3 separate regions of the Homo sapiens genome follow, and all the other regions are linked to region 3. The links are contacts of gene promoters, found by promoter capture Hi-C in blood cells and fetal thymus (Javierre and others, 2016). All regions are on one chromosome and are shown on one strand. The core of a region is centred on a gene start or on the middle of the fragment in contact, and the rest is flanking DNA. Distances in the headings are between cores, read along the strand shown. Region 1 has its middle 12 kb from the start of SCGB1A1. Region 2 overlaps SLC3A2 (solute carrier family 3 member 2). Region 3 holds the start of UQCC3 (ubiquinol-cytochrome c reductase complex assembly factor 3).

Region 1 (3,745 bases), core at 391-2,890, 240 kb before region 3:
AGTGGAGAAGGAGTAATTCACACAGAGCTGGTGTGTGGGAGACTGGGTTTTATTATTACTCCAAACAGTCTCCCTGAGCATTCGGGGATCGGGGTTTTTAAAGATAATTTGGCGGGTAAGGGCTTGGGAAGCAGGGAGTGCTGATTGGTCAGGCTGGAGATGGAATCCTAGGGGGTGGAAGTGTGGTTTTCTTGCTGTCTTCTGTTCCTGGGGAGGATGGCAGAAATGGTTGAGCCAGATTACCAGTCTGGGTTGTGTCAGCTGATCCATCGAATGCAGGGTCTGCAAACTATCTCAAGCACTGATCTTAGGTTTTACAATAGTGATGTTATCTGCAGGAGCAATCTGGGGAGGCTCAGACTCTTGGAGCCAGAGGCTGCATGACCGCTAAACTAAATTTCTAATCTTGTAGCTAATTTGTTAGTCTTGCAAAGGCAGACTGGTCCACAGGCAAGAATGGGGTTTTTTTTAGGGAAATGGCTATTATCAATTTTGTTTCAGAGTCAAAACATGAACTGAATTCCTTCCCAAAGTTAGTTCAGGCCTATGCCCAGGAATGAACAAGGACAGCTTAAAGGTTAGAAGGAAGATGGAGTCGGTTAGGTCTGATCTCTTTCACTGTCATAATTTCCTCAGTTGTAATTTTTGCAAAGGCGGTTTCACAGCCACCCTGTGTGTGTAACCACGAGGCAGATACCTACAGAGCTTCCTTTAGAGTTCCCTCTTAGGGCTGGGTGCAGTGGCTCAAGCCACTGTGGGAGGCTGAGGCAGGCGGATCACCTGAGGTCAGGAGTTCGAGACCAGCCTGGCCAACATGGCAAAACCCCATCTCTACTAGTAATACAAAAATTACCCGGGCATGATGGCGCATGCCTGTAGTCCCCGCTACAGCTGAGGCAAGAGAATCACTTGAACCCAGGAGGCAGAAGTTGCAGTGGCAGAGGTTGCAGAGGCGGAAGTTGTAGTGAGCCGAGGTTGCAGTAAGCCGAGATCACACCACTGCACTCCAGCCTGGGTGACAGAATGAGACTCCATCTCAAAAATAAAAATGAAAAAGAATTCCCTGTTAGGCCCCTGTCACAAAAGTAGGTACTAATCAGCCCTGGGACAGGATAGAGACTTGATCAGAGGCTCCCTGGGAGCTGTGGAAGGAGGAGCAGGCCTTGGGGCATCAGGAGAGGAGAAAGGGTTGCTGGGCTGGGGGATCTCCTGACCTCCTGACCTTAGGCGTCCAGTCGGTCTCTGAGTCCATCTCAACTTACATGGAATTGATCCCTTTATTTTTTTTTATTTATTTATTTTTGAGATAGGGTCTCACTCTGTCACCCAGGCTGGAGTGCAAGGTTGCAATCACTGCTCACTGCAACCTCCGCCTCCCAGGCTCAAGCAATCCTCCTCCCTCAGCCTCCTGAGTAGCTGGGATGACAGGCGCACACCACCATGCCCAGCTAATTTTTGTATTTTTTTTCATAGATACGGGTTTTCGCCATGTTGGCCAGGCTGGTCTCAAACTCCTGGACTCAAATGATCTGCCAGCCTCTGCCTCCCAAAGTGTTGGGATTACAGGCGTGAGCCACCGTGCCCAGCCCTTATCCCCTTCTCTTGACCCTATTGCCAATTCCAAGCCTTCACCATCTGTGACCTGGATCATTGCAAACAGCCTCTACATTAGTTTCTATGGCTGCTGTAACAACTTACCACAGACTTAATAACTTAAAAACACACAAATTTATGATCTTCTCGTTCTGGAGGCCAGATGTCTGAAATGCATTTCACTGGGCTAAAAACCAAGGTGTTGGCAGGCTGCATTCTTTCTGGAGTCTCCAGGGGAGAATCTGTCTCCTTGTTTTTTCCATTTTCTAAAGGCCACCCGCATTACTTGGCTCATGGCCCCTTCCCCATCTTCAAAGTCAGCAGGGCAGCCTCTGCAATTCTCTCTCCGACACTGATCTCCTCTTCTGCCTCCCACTTCCATTCATAAGGATCTCTGTGATTACACTGGGCCCATCAGATACTCCAAAACAACCTCCCCTCTCACGGTCAGCTGATGAGAAACCTTCATCCATGTGCAACCCTAATTCTCTCTTGCCAGGTAACCTAACACATGCACAGGGTCTGGGGATTAGGACGTGGAGATCCTTGAGGGGCCGTTAATCTGCCTCCTAAATAGTCTCTAAGATTTTAGTCTTACTTCCTTCCCATGATTGCCAAAAATCAAACAGGAAGTTCATGCTTTTGCTTAAAATCCTTCCCTCTTCCTGGTCCCCTGTTGGATAAAGTCCAAACCCCTCACCCATCATCAAAGGCTCCTGGAGATGGTGGCCCTGCTTCCCACTGTGGCCTCAAATCCTGCTGCTTCCCACCTACCCTTCACTTTGAGGGTGCAGCAGTGGATGATGCTCGGAAATAAAACTGCCCTCTGAGTAAGGCTTGTCGATTCATGTCGAGGCACAGACGTTCACATTTGAAACAGGCAACAAATCCATGCCATTCACACTTCCACACTTTTGCAGAAACAGTTCCCGCTAACTGAAATGCTTTCCCTTCCCAAAGTCCCTGGAAGAACCAAACTCCATCCTTCATGACTCACTTGGGACATGCTTATACTAAAAATTGTTTCATTATTTATCTAAAATGCACACTTAACGGGCATACTGTATTTCATTTGCTAAGTCTGGCCCCCTTCAGATTCTTTCACGACTTAGTCTGTGGGCTCTTTCTCCCTGTTCTCCCTACCCAGCACTTTGTGCCCTGAGGTTCAGGGGCTCTTTCTGCTGCTGAGCTTCCACGCCCCTAATCTGGGGCATGTATTTACAGTGGGATAAATCATGTATTTATCTTACTATAGCATGTTTGCTTCTAACTGTTGCCTTCTCTAGAATGTGAGTCCTATGAAGGCATGATTCACATTTTAGTTATCTTGCCACTCATTGTAGAAAAATTAGAAAACCCAAGAAAGCAAAAGGAAAATAAATCATTCGAATGTACATCTGCGTCAAGTACTTGATCAGAGCAGCAGGATTCTACTTTTGACCCTCTAGTGGAAAAATTGAAACCAAGGTGGAAGCCAAGACAGTAAATTAAGTATATTACAGGACTCGAGACCTTTTTTTTTTTTTTTTTGAGACGGAGTCTCACTTTGTTGCCATGCTGGAGTGCAGAGGTGCCATCCTGGCTCACTGCAATCTCCACCTCCCGGTTCAAGTGATTCTCCTGCCTCAGCCTCCCAAGTAGCAGGGACTACAGGCGCATGCATGCCACCATGCCCAGCTAATTTTTGTATTTTTAGTAGAGACAGGGTTTCACCATATTGGCCAGGATGGTCTCGATCTCTTGACCTCATGATCTGCCCGCCTTGGCCTCCCGACCTTTTTATTCCATCTCTCTGCTTCCAGGAGGACCATATCAATAACCAAGTGGCCCCTGAGACATGACCCTAAACCCCCAAAAAGACCTCCCATTACTCTGTGGCTGACCCATTTGAGGAATTCATATGTTCTGTGGGCAGGAAGTTCTAACCAAAATGCAAAAAAAGTTTGAAGTTCATCGTATTCCGTTGTTCCCTGCTTTTCTGTTTCTAGGTAAAGATGAGATTAGTTGGCCAGGCACGGTGGCTCACCCCTGTAATCCCAGCACTTTGGGAGACTGAGGCAGGTGGATCACCTGAGGTCAGGAGTTTGAGACCCACCTGACCAACATGGAGAAACCCCATCTCCACTAAAAATACAAAAATTAGCTGGGCGTG
Region 2 (3,613 bases), core at 1,114-3,613, 220 kb after region 3:
TGGAGTTCCGCTCTTTTTGCCCAGGCTGGGGTGCGATGGCGTGATCTTGGCTCACTGCAACCTCTGCCTCCTGGGTTCAAGCGATTCTCCTGCCTCAGCATCCCAAGTAGCTGGGATTACAGACGCGGGCCACCACACCTGGCTAATTTTGTATTTTTAGTAGAGACGGGGTTTCTCCATGTTGGTCAAGCCAGTCTCGAACTCCTGACCTCAAGTGATCCACCCGCCTCAGCCTCCCAAAGTGTTGGGATTACAGGCGTGAGCCACTGCGCCTGGCCCCATTCTTTCTTGTGCTAACCTTGAACTCCTCCCTCCCCTCTGCAGGCTCTTGATTGCGGGGACTAACTCCTCCGACCTTCAGCAGATCCTGAGCCTACTCGAATCCAACAAAGACTTGCTGTTGACTAGCTCATACCTGTCTGATTCTGGTTCTACTGGGGAGCATACAAAATCCCTAGTCACACAGTATTTGAATGCCACTGGCAATCGCTGGTGCAGCTGGAGTGTGAGTACCATGCTGGTGGGAAAGGGGGCAGATGGGAGAAGAAAGGGTTGTTGGGAGACAGAGGCAGAGGTGGGTTATGGGGCTCACTGGAGTGTCTCTCCCTGTAGTTGTCTCAGGCAAGGCTCCTGACTTCCTTCTTGCCGGCTCAACTTCTCCGACTCTACCAGCTGATGCTCTTCACCCTGCCAGGGACCCCTGTTTTCAGCTACGGGGATGAGATTGGCCTGGATGCAGCTGCCCTTCCTGGACAGGTACTGCTTGCTGTCTTTCTGTCACAGGGAGGTTGTTTATCCATCTTACAATGATGATTCTGGGGATGGCGGCACATAGACGTGAGCCTTGGGGTGAAAACGCGTTTGATTCTTAGTCAGTAGCTGAGTGGCTATGTGGCTTTGGGCAAATTATTTTACCTTTCTGAATTTTGGTCATCCCTTGTGTTACTGCATTTCTTGAAGGGTGGTTAGTATTAAATGAGGGCATGTTTTTAATGGTAATGCCTGGTACCTGGCAGATGTTTGCTATGGTAGCCACCATTCATTTATTCATTCCTTTATTCTTTGGACAGTGGGTACTGTGCTAGGCTCTGTGCCCTCAGGAGCTCATAGTTTAGTGAGGGAGCCAGATAAATAAGTGGAGAAGTACATGGCAGTGGCTGGGCACGGTGGCTCATGCCTGTAATCCTAGCACTTTGGGAGTCCAAGGTGGGTGGATCACTGGAGGTAAGGAGTTCGAAACCAGCCTAGCCAACAGGGTGAAACCCAGTCTCTACTAAAAATACAAAAATTAGCCAGGTGTGGTGGTGCACGCCTGTAGTCCCAGCTACTGGGGAGGCTGAGGCAAGAGAATCGCTTGAACCTGGAGGCAGAGGTTGCAGTGAACTGAGATTGTGCCACTGCACTTTAGCCTGGGCGGCAGAGGGAGACTCCTTCTCCAAAAAAAAAAAGAAAAGAAAAGAAAGAAAGAAATACATGGTAGGGATACTACTACAAAGGCATTCACTAGCTTTAGATACAGGGTTACTGTTGATCCCCGACTTTTTTTTTTTGTTTGTTTGTTTGTTTTTTGTTTTTGTTTTTAAGACAGCATTTCCCTATGTCGCCCAGGCTGGAGTGCAGTGGCATGATCTTGGTTCATTGCAGCCTCCGCCTCCCAGGCCGAAGTGATCATCCCACCTCAGCCTCCTGAGTAGCTGGGATATGTACCATAGATAGGTGCGTGCCATCATGCCCAGCTGATCTTTTTTTTTTTTGGAGACAGGTTCTTGCTCTGTTGATCTGGCTGGATTGCAGTGGTGCGATTATGTCTCACTGCAACCTCTGCCTCTTGGGTTCAAGTGATACTCCTGCCTCAGCTTCCCAAGTAGCTGGGAATACAGGTGGTCTGGGAATACAGGCACACACCACCATGCCCGGCTAATTTTTGTAGAGACAGGCTTTCACTGTTGTTGCCCAGGCTGGTCTCCAACTCCTGGGCTCAATCGCTCTGCCTGCCCTGATCTCCCAAATTGCTGGGACTACAGGTGTGAGCCACTGTGCCTGGCCACAGCTAATTTTTAAAATTTGTAGAGGTGTGGTCTCACTATGTTGCCCAGGCTGTTCTCAAACTCCTGGGTGCAAATGATCCTCCCACCTTGGCCTCCCAAACTGCTATGATTACAGGTGCGAGCCACTGCACCCGGCCATCAGCATGATGTTTATAGAACCAGTTATTCATTTATTCCACAGATGTTTATAGAATAATTTCTGTCTGTTACACTGAGGATACAGCATTGCACAAGAGAGCTGGAGGTGGTTAGATAATTAGATATGCATAAATAAAACGCCAGCTGCTGATCAGTGCTATGCAAAAGAAGGCGGGGTAAGGAGCCTAGAGACTAGGGGATGATGGGGCTTGTTTTATAGAGAGTAGCCATAGGAGACCTGGTAAGATAACCAAGCAGATACCTGAGGGAAGTGAGAGAGCTGGCTGGCAGCCATCTGGGAGCTCTTGGCTGAGGGGCAACAGTGTATGTGTGAGGACCCTGAGGTGGGAGCCTGCCTCACTCATCCAGTAGAAGTTAGCCAGGCCGGGTGTCGTGGCTTATGCCTGTAATCCCAGCACTTTGGGAGGCCAAGGTGGGTGGATCACCTGAGGTCAAGAGTTCGAGACCAGCCTAGCCAACATGGTGAAACCCCGTCTTTACTAAAAATACAAAAAAATTAGCTGGGTGTGGTGGTGCACACCTATGGTCAGCTACTGGGGAGGCTGAGGCAGGAGAATCGCTTGAACCCAGGAGGCAGAGATTGCAGTAAGCCAAGATCGTGCCATTGCACTCCAGCCTGAACAGAGCGAGACTCCGTCTCAAAAAAAAAAAAAAAAAAAAGTTAGCCAGACATGAGTTGGGGAGGTTATATATTGATGAGGATGTGAATGGGAAGAGGGATACGGGACAGTGGGCCCAGGGCTTTTTTTTTGAGACAGGGTCTCACTCTGTTGCCCAGGCTGGAGTACAGTGGTGGAGTCATGGCTCACTGCAAGCTCAAACTCCTGGGTTCAAGTGATCCTCCCTCCTCAGCCTCCCCAGTATCTGGGACTATAGGGATGTAACACTACACCCAGCTAATTTTTAAAAATTTTGTAGTAGAGATGAGGGCTCATTATGTTGCTGAGGCTGGTTTCAAATGCCTGGGCTCAAGCAATCCTCTTGGCCTTGACCTCCCAGACTGCTGGAATTACAGATGTGAGCCACCATGCCTGACCCCAGGCCTTTTTAAAGTCCTATTTTCTCTGCTTTTCAGCCTATGGAGGCTCCAGTCATGCTGTGGGATGAGTCCAGCTTCCCTGACATCCCAGGGGCTGTAAGTGCCAACATGACTGTGAAGGTAAGAGTTCTAGATGGGTAGAAACTGACCGGTGGAGGGTGGGCTGGGCTTGTAGAAGTCTGTACCCAGGGGAGCCCCTCACACGCTTCTGCTATGTTTTTATCATTCTTAGGGCCAGAGTGAAGACCCTGGCTCCCTCCTTTCCTTGTTCCGGCGGCTGAGTGACCAGCGGAGTAAGGAGCGCTCCCTACTGCATGGGGACTTCCACGCGTTCTCCGCTGGGCCTGGACTCTTCTCCTATATCCGC
Region 3 (3,368 bases), core at 46-2,545:
ATATTTATATGGTGTTTACTCTTTGGCAGGAGCTGTTTTAATTGCTTTACATATAACTAATTTAATTATCCTAAAACTGTGAGACAAGTACTGTTGTTATAAGCTTCATTTTCTGATGCAGAAACCGGGGCACAAGAACTTGCCTATAATCAGTCACACAGCTAAGAGGTGTTTTCTTCTGTAAAGCAGAATTCAGTATGTTACACGAATCCAGCCTTTTAGTGGTTGAAAACAAAGCAAAACAGCCGGGCGCGGTGGCTCACACCTGTAATCCCAGCACTTTGGGAGGCCGAGGTGGGCGGATTGGGCGGATCACGAGGTCAGGAGTTCGAGACCAGCCTGACCTACATAGTGAAACTCTTTCTCTACTAAAAATACAAAAAATTAGCCGGCCGTGGTGGCGGGCGCCTGTAGTCCCAGCTACTCGGGAGGCTGAGGCAGGAGAATGGCGTGAACCCGGGAGGCAGAGCTTGCAGTGAGCCGAGATCACGCCACTGCACTCCAGCTGGGCAACAGAGTGAGACTCTGTCTCAAAAAGCAAAAAAGAAAACGAAGCAAAACAAAAAGCAATACCAGCCGGGCGTGGTGGTGCACGCCTGTAATCCCAGCTATCCGGGAGGTTGAGGCAGGAGGATCGCTTGGGCCCTGGAAGTCGAGGCTTCAGTGAGCCATGATCGCGCCACTGCACTCCAGCCCTGGGCGACAGAGCGAGACCTTGTCTCCAAAAACAAACAAAACCACGCCCACACACTAACAACAACAACAAAACCAAAAAAAAACCCAAACAATACCAAGTGTGTACCATGACGAGAAAAGGAATAGGTTGTTTGTAAAATAAATGTTAAAGATAAGTAACTATTACCCATTTCTCCAACCAGTATACTTGACTTTGAGTGTTTGTTCCAGAGTTGAGGGGATGGAGAGGGATGTGTATGTGTGTAGATGCCCTCCATGCGCTGTGTTGAAAACGCGCGGGTGACTGCAGGAAACCACAGAGCACAGCTCGGGCCTCTACTGATCGGGAAACGTCGGAAGACAGAAAAATGGGCAATCATAAAACCCACGGCAACCATGAAGACACGCACTCTCCCCCTAGCAATCCCACCCCGGAATTGAGGACACAGGGTCCCCGCGCTCAGCCCTTGGTGCCAGCACTTCTTGGACACCTCAACCCCCTCAGCTAAACCTGAGATCCAAGCGCTCCGGATTCCAAACGTTTCCTCGAGCAGGTCCTCTCTAGCCGGCCGCTTATCTATGGTTTCTGCTATAGGGCGCTCTAGCCTGCGCCAAGGGGTAGTGAGACCGCGCGGCAACAGCTTGCGGCTGCGGGGAGCTCCCGTGGGCGCTCCGCTGGCTGTGCAGGCGGCCATGGATTCCTTGCGGAAAATGCTGATCTCAGTCGCAATGCTGGGCGCAGGGGCTGGCGTGGGCTACGCGCTCCTCGTTATCGTGACCCCGGGAGAGCGGCGGAAGCAGGAAATGCTAAAGGTAGAAGCAACTGGTAGTCCCGAGGAAGGGTGGGCGGGTGGAGAGCCCCGGACTGGAGCTCCTGCGAACTCCCCTTCCTGCCCTCAGGAGATGCCACTGCAGGACCCAAGGAGCAGGGAGGAGGCGGCCAGGACCCAGCAGCTATTGCTGGCCACTCTGCAGGAGGCAGCGACCACGCAGGAGAACGTGGCCTGGAGGAAGAACTGGATGGTTGGCGGCGAAGGCGGCGCCGGCGGGAGGTCACCGTGAGACCGGACTTGCCTCCGTGGGCGCCGGACCTTGGCTTGGGCGCAGGAATCCGAGGCAGCCTTTCTCCTTCGTGGGCCCAGCGGAGAGTCCGGACCGAGATACCATGCCAGGACTCTCCGGGGTCCTGTGAGCTGCCGTCGGGTGAGCACGTTTCCCCCAAACCCTGGACTGACTGCTTTAAGGTCCGCAAGGCGGGCCAGGGCCGAGACGCGAGTCGGATGTGGTGAACTGAAAGAACCAATAAAATCATGTTCCTCCACCCAGAATGAGCCCTGCAGTCGACACCTACCAATGCTTAGAGACGCGTGGTCGGTGCTGGGGGCGCGGCCTGGAGCTGCTGCCTGTCCCACCCCACCAGAAGAGGCTGATCCCGATAGGTATCTGACCACATTTTTTTTTTTTTTTTTTTTTTGAGACGGAGTCAATGTCACCCAGGCTGGAGTGCAGTGGCACGATCTCGGCTCACTGCAACCTCCGCCCCTGGGTTCCAGCAATTCTCCTGCCTCAGCTTCCCGAGTAGCCGGGATCACAAGTGCGCGCCACCAAGCCCAGCTAACTTTTGTGTTTTTAGTTGAGACAGGGTTCACCATGTTGGCTAGACTGGTCTCGAACTCCAGACCCAGGTGATCCGCCCGCCTCGGCCTCCCAAAGGGCTGGGATTACAGGCGTGAACCACCTCGCCCTGCCGCGGCCACATTTTTTCTTTTTTTTGAGATGGAGTCTTGCTCTTGTCACCCAGGCAGGAGTGCAGTGGCGCAATCTTGGCTCACTGCAACCTCTGCCTCCTGGGTTCAAGCTGTTCTCCTTACTCAGCCTCCCATGTAGCTGGGATTACAGGCGTCCGCAACCACGCCCGGCTGATATTAGTAGTTTTAGTAGAGGCGGGTTTCACCATGTGGCCAGGCTGATCTCGAACTCCTGACCTCAGGCAGTTCACCCGTCTCAGCCTCCCAAAGTGCTGGGATTAGAGGCGTGAGCCACTGCGCCCGGCCAACCACATTTTCAAAACAGGTCATGTGGTGTCAGGTTGGAGTGTACTTCCAGGGATAACCGTGGGACATTCTTGAAATCTGAACTATCCTGGGAAGTCTTGAAGTAATGGATGCCTATAGTGGACACTCAGGACTCCTGTCCTTGGAGCGAGATTGGAGGGGCATCTAGCACTTAACATATGCCACAATGCTTTCTGTGGCCATTATTTAACCTCTGGTTAAACAAGCTTAGGAGGCTGACTTACTAGTAGTAAAAGGAGTGTGCTTTGAGTCACAGATCCTGGTTGAACTCCAGCATGTTACAAACCTCAGCCCTGTTCTATGAAAGGTCATAACTACGAGGATTATTGTAAAACATTAATTTAGAAATGTAAAGTGGTCCCCAATCTCTGGATCTGGTCAGGATTTATTGGAGCTGCCACTGAGGGGATTAAATAAGTGGGGTCAAAGCCCCACAGCCTAGTCAACCAAGTTGCTCCTCTTTTGTCTATCCTGTGGTTCCCAAGCAAGACTGCAATTGAAAAAAAGGCTGCTGTTATTAAAGTCAGAACACCAAATAAAGCTTTTTTTTTTTTTTTGAGACAGAATTTCTGTGTTGTTGCCCACGCTGGAGTGCAATGGAGCGATCTCAACTCAATG

What was found. Contacts are between HindIII fragments. The CHiCAGO score rates a contact against its expected background, and 5 or more counts as called.
Region 1: a contact is called between a fragment that was not itself captured here and the fragment with the promoter of UQCC3 in region 3, in 7 of 17 cell types (naive B cells, total B cells, total CD8 T cells and 4 more). The highest score is 11.6, in naive B cells.
Region 2: a contact is called between a fragment that was not itself captured here and the fragment with the promoter of UQCC3 in region 3, in 3 of 17 cell types (naive CD4 T cells, naive B cells and naive CD8 T cells). The highest score is 5.2, in naive CD4 T cells.

The regions. Positions count from the first base shown.
Region 1 is chr11:62,428,794-62,432,538 of GRCh38, forward strand. No RefSeq gene overlaps it. Among named protein-coding and RNA genes, the nearest start is that of SCGB1A1, 12 kb to the left of the region's middle. The HindIII fragment of the contact is 7,397 bases long and covers 1-3,745 here.
Region 2 is chr11:62,884,853-62,888,465 of GRCh38, forward strand. SLC3A2 (solute carrier family 3 member 2) reads left to right here. Exons shown (of 9, transcript NM_001013251.3): 6 at 325-505; 7 at 613-756; 8 at 3,283-3,366; 9 at 3,479-3,613. Among named protein-coding and RNA genes, the nearest start is that of SLC3A2, 5.8 kb to the left of the region's middle. The HindIII fragment of the contact is 5,324 bases long and covers 1-3,613 here.
Region 3 is chr11:62,670,378-62,673,745 of GRCh38, forward strand. UQCC3 (ubiquinol-cytochrome c reductase complex assembly factor 3) reads left to right here and starts at 1,296. Exons shown (of 2, transcript NM_001085372.3): 1 at 1,296-1,488; 2 at 1,576-3,309. The coding sequence starts at 1,369. The coding sequence ends at 1,737. It overlaps LBHD1 (LBH domain containing 1), which reads right to left and starts at 1,890. Exons shown (of 7, transcript NM_024099.5): 1 at 1,187-1,890. RefSeq lists enhancers at 1-721, 722-1,461, 1,462-2,203, 1,570-1,729 and a silencer at 1,970-2,099. The HindIII fragment of the contact is 2,853 bases long and covers 102-2,954 here.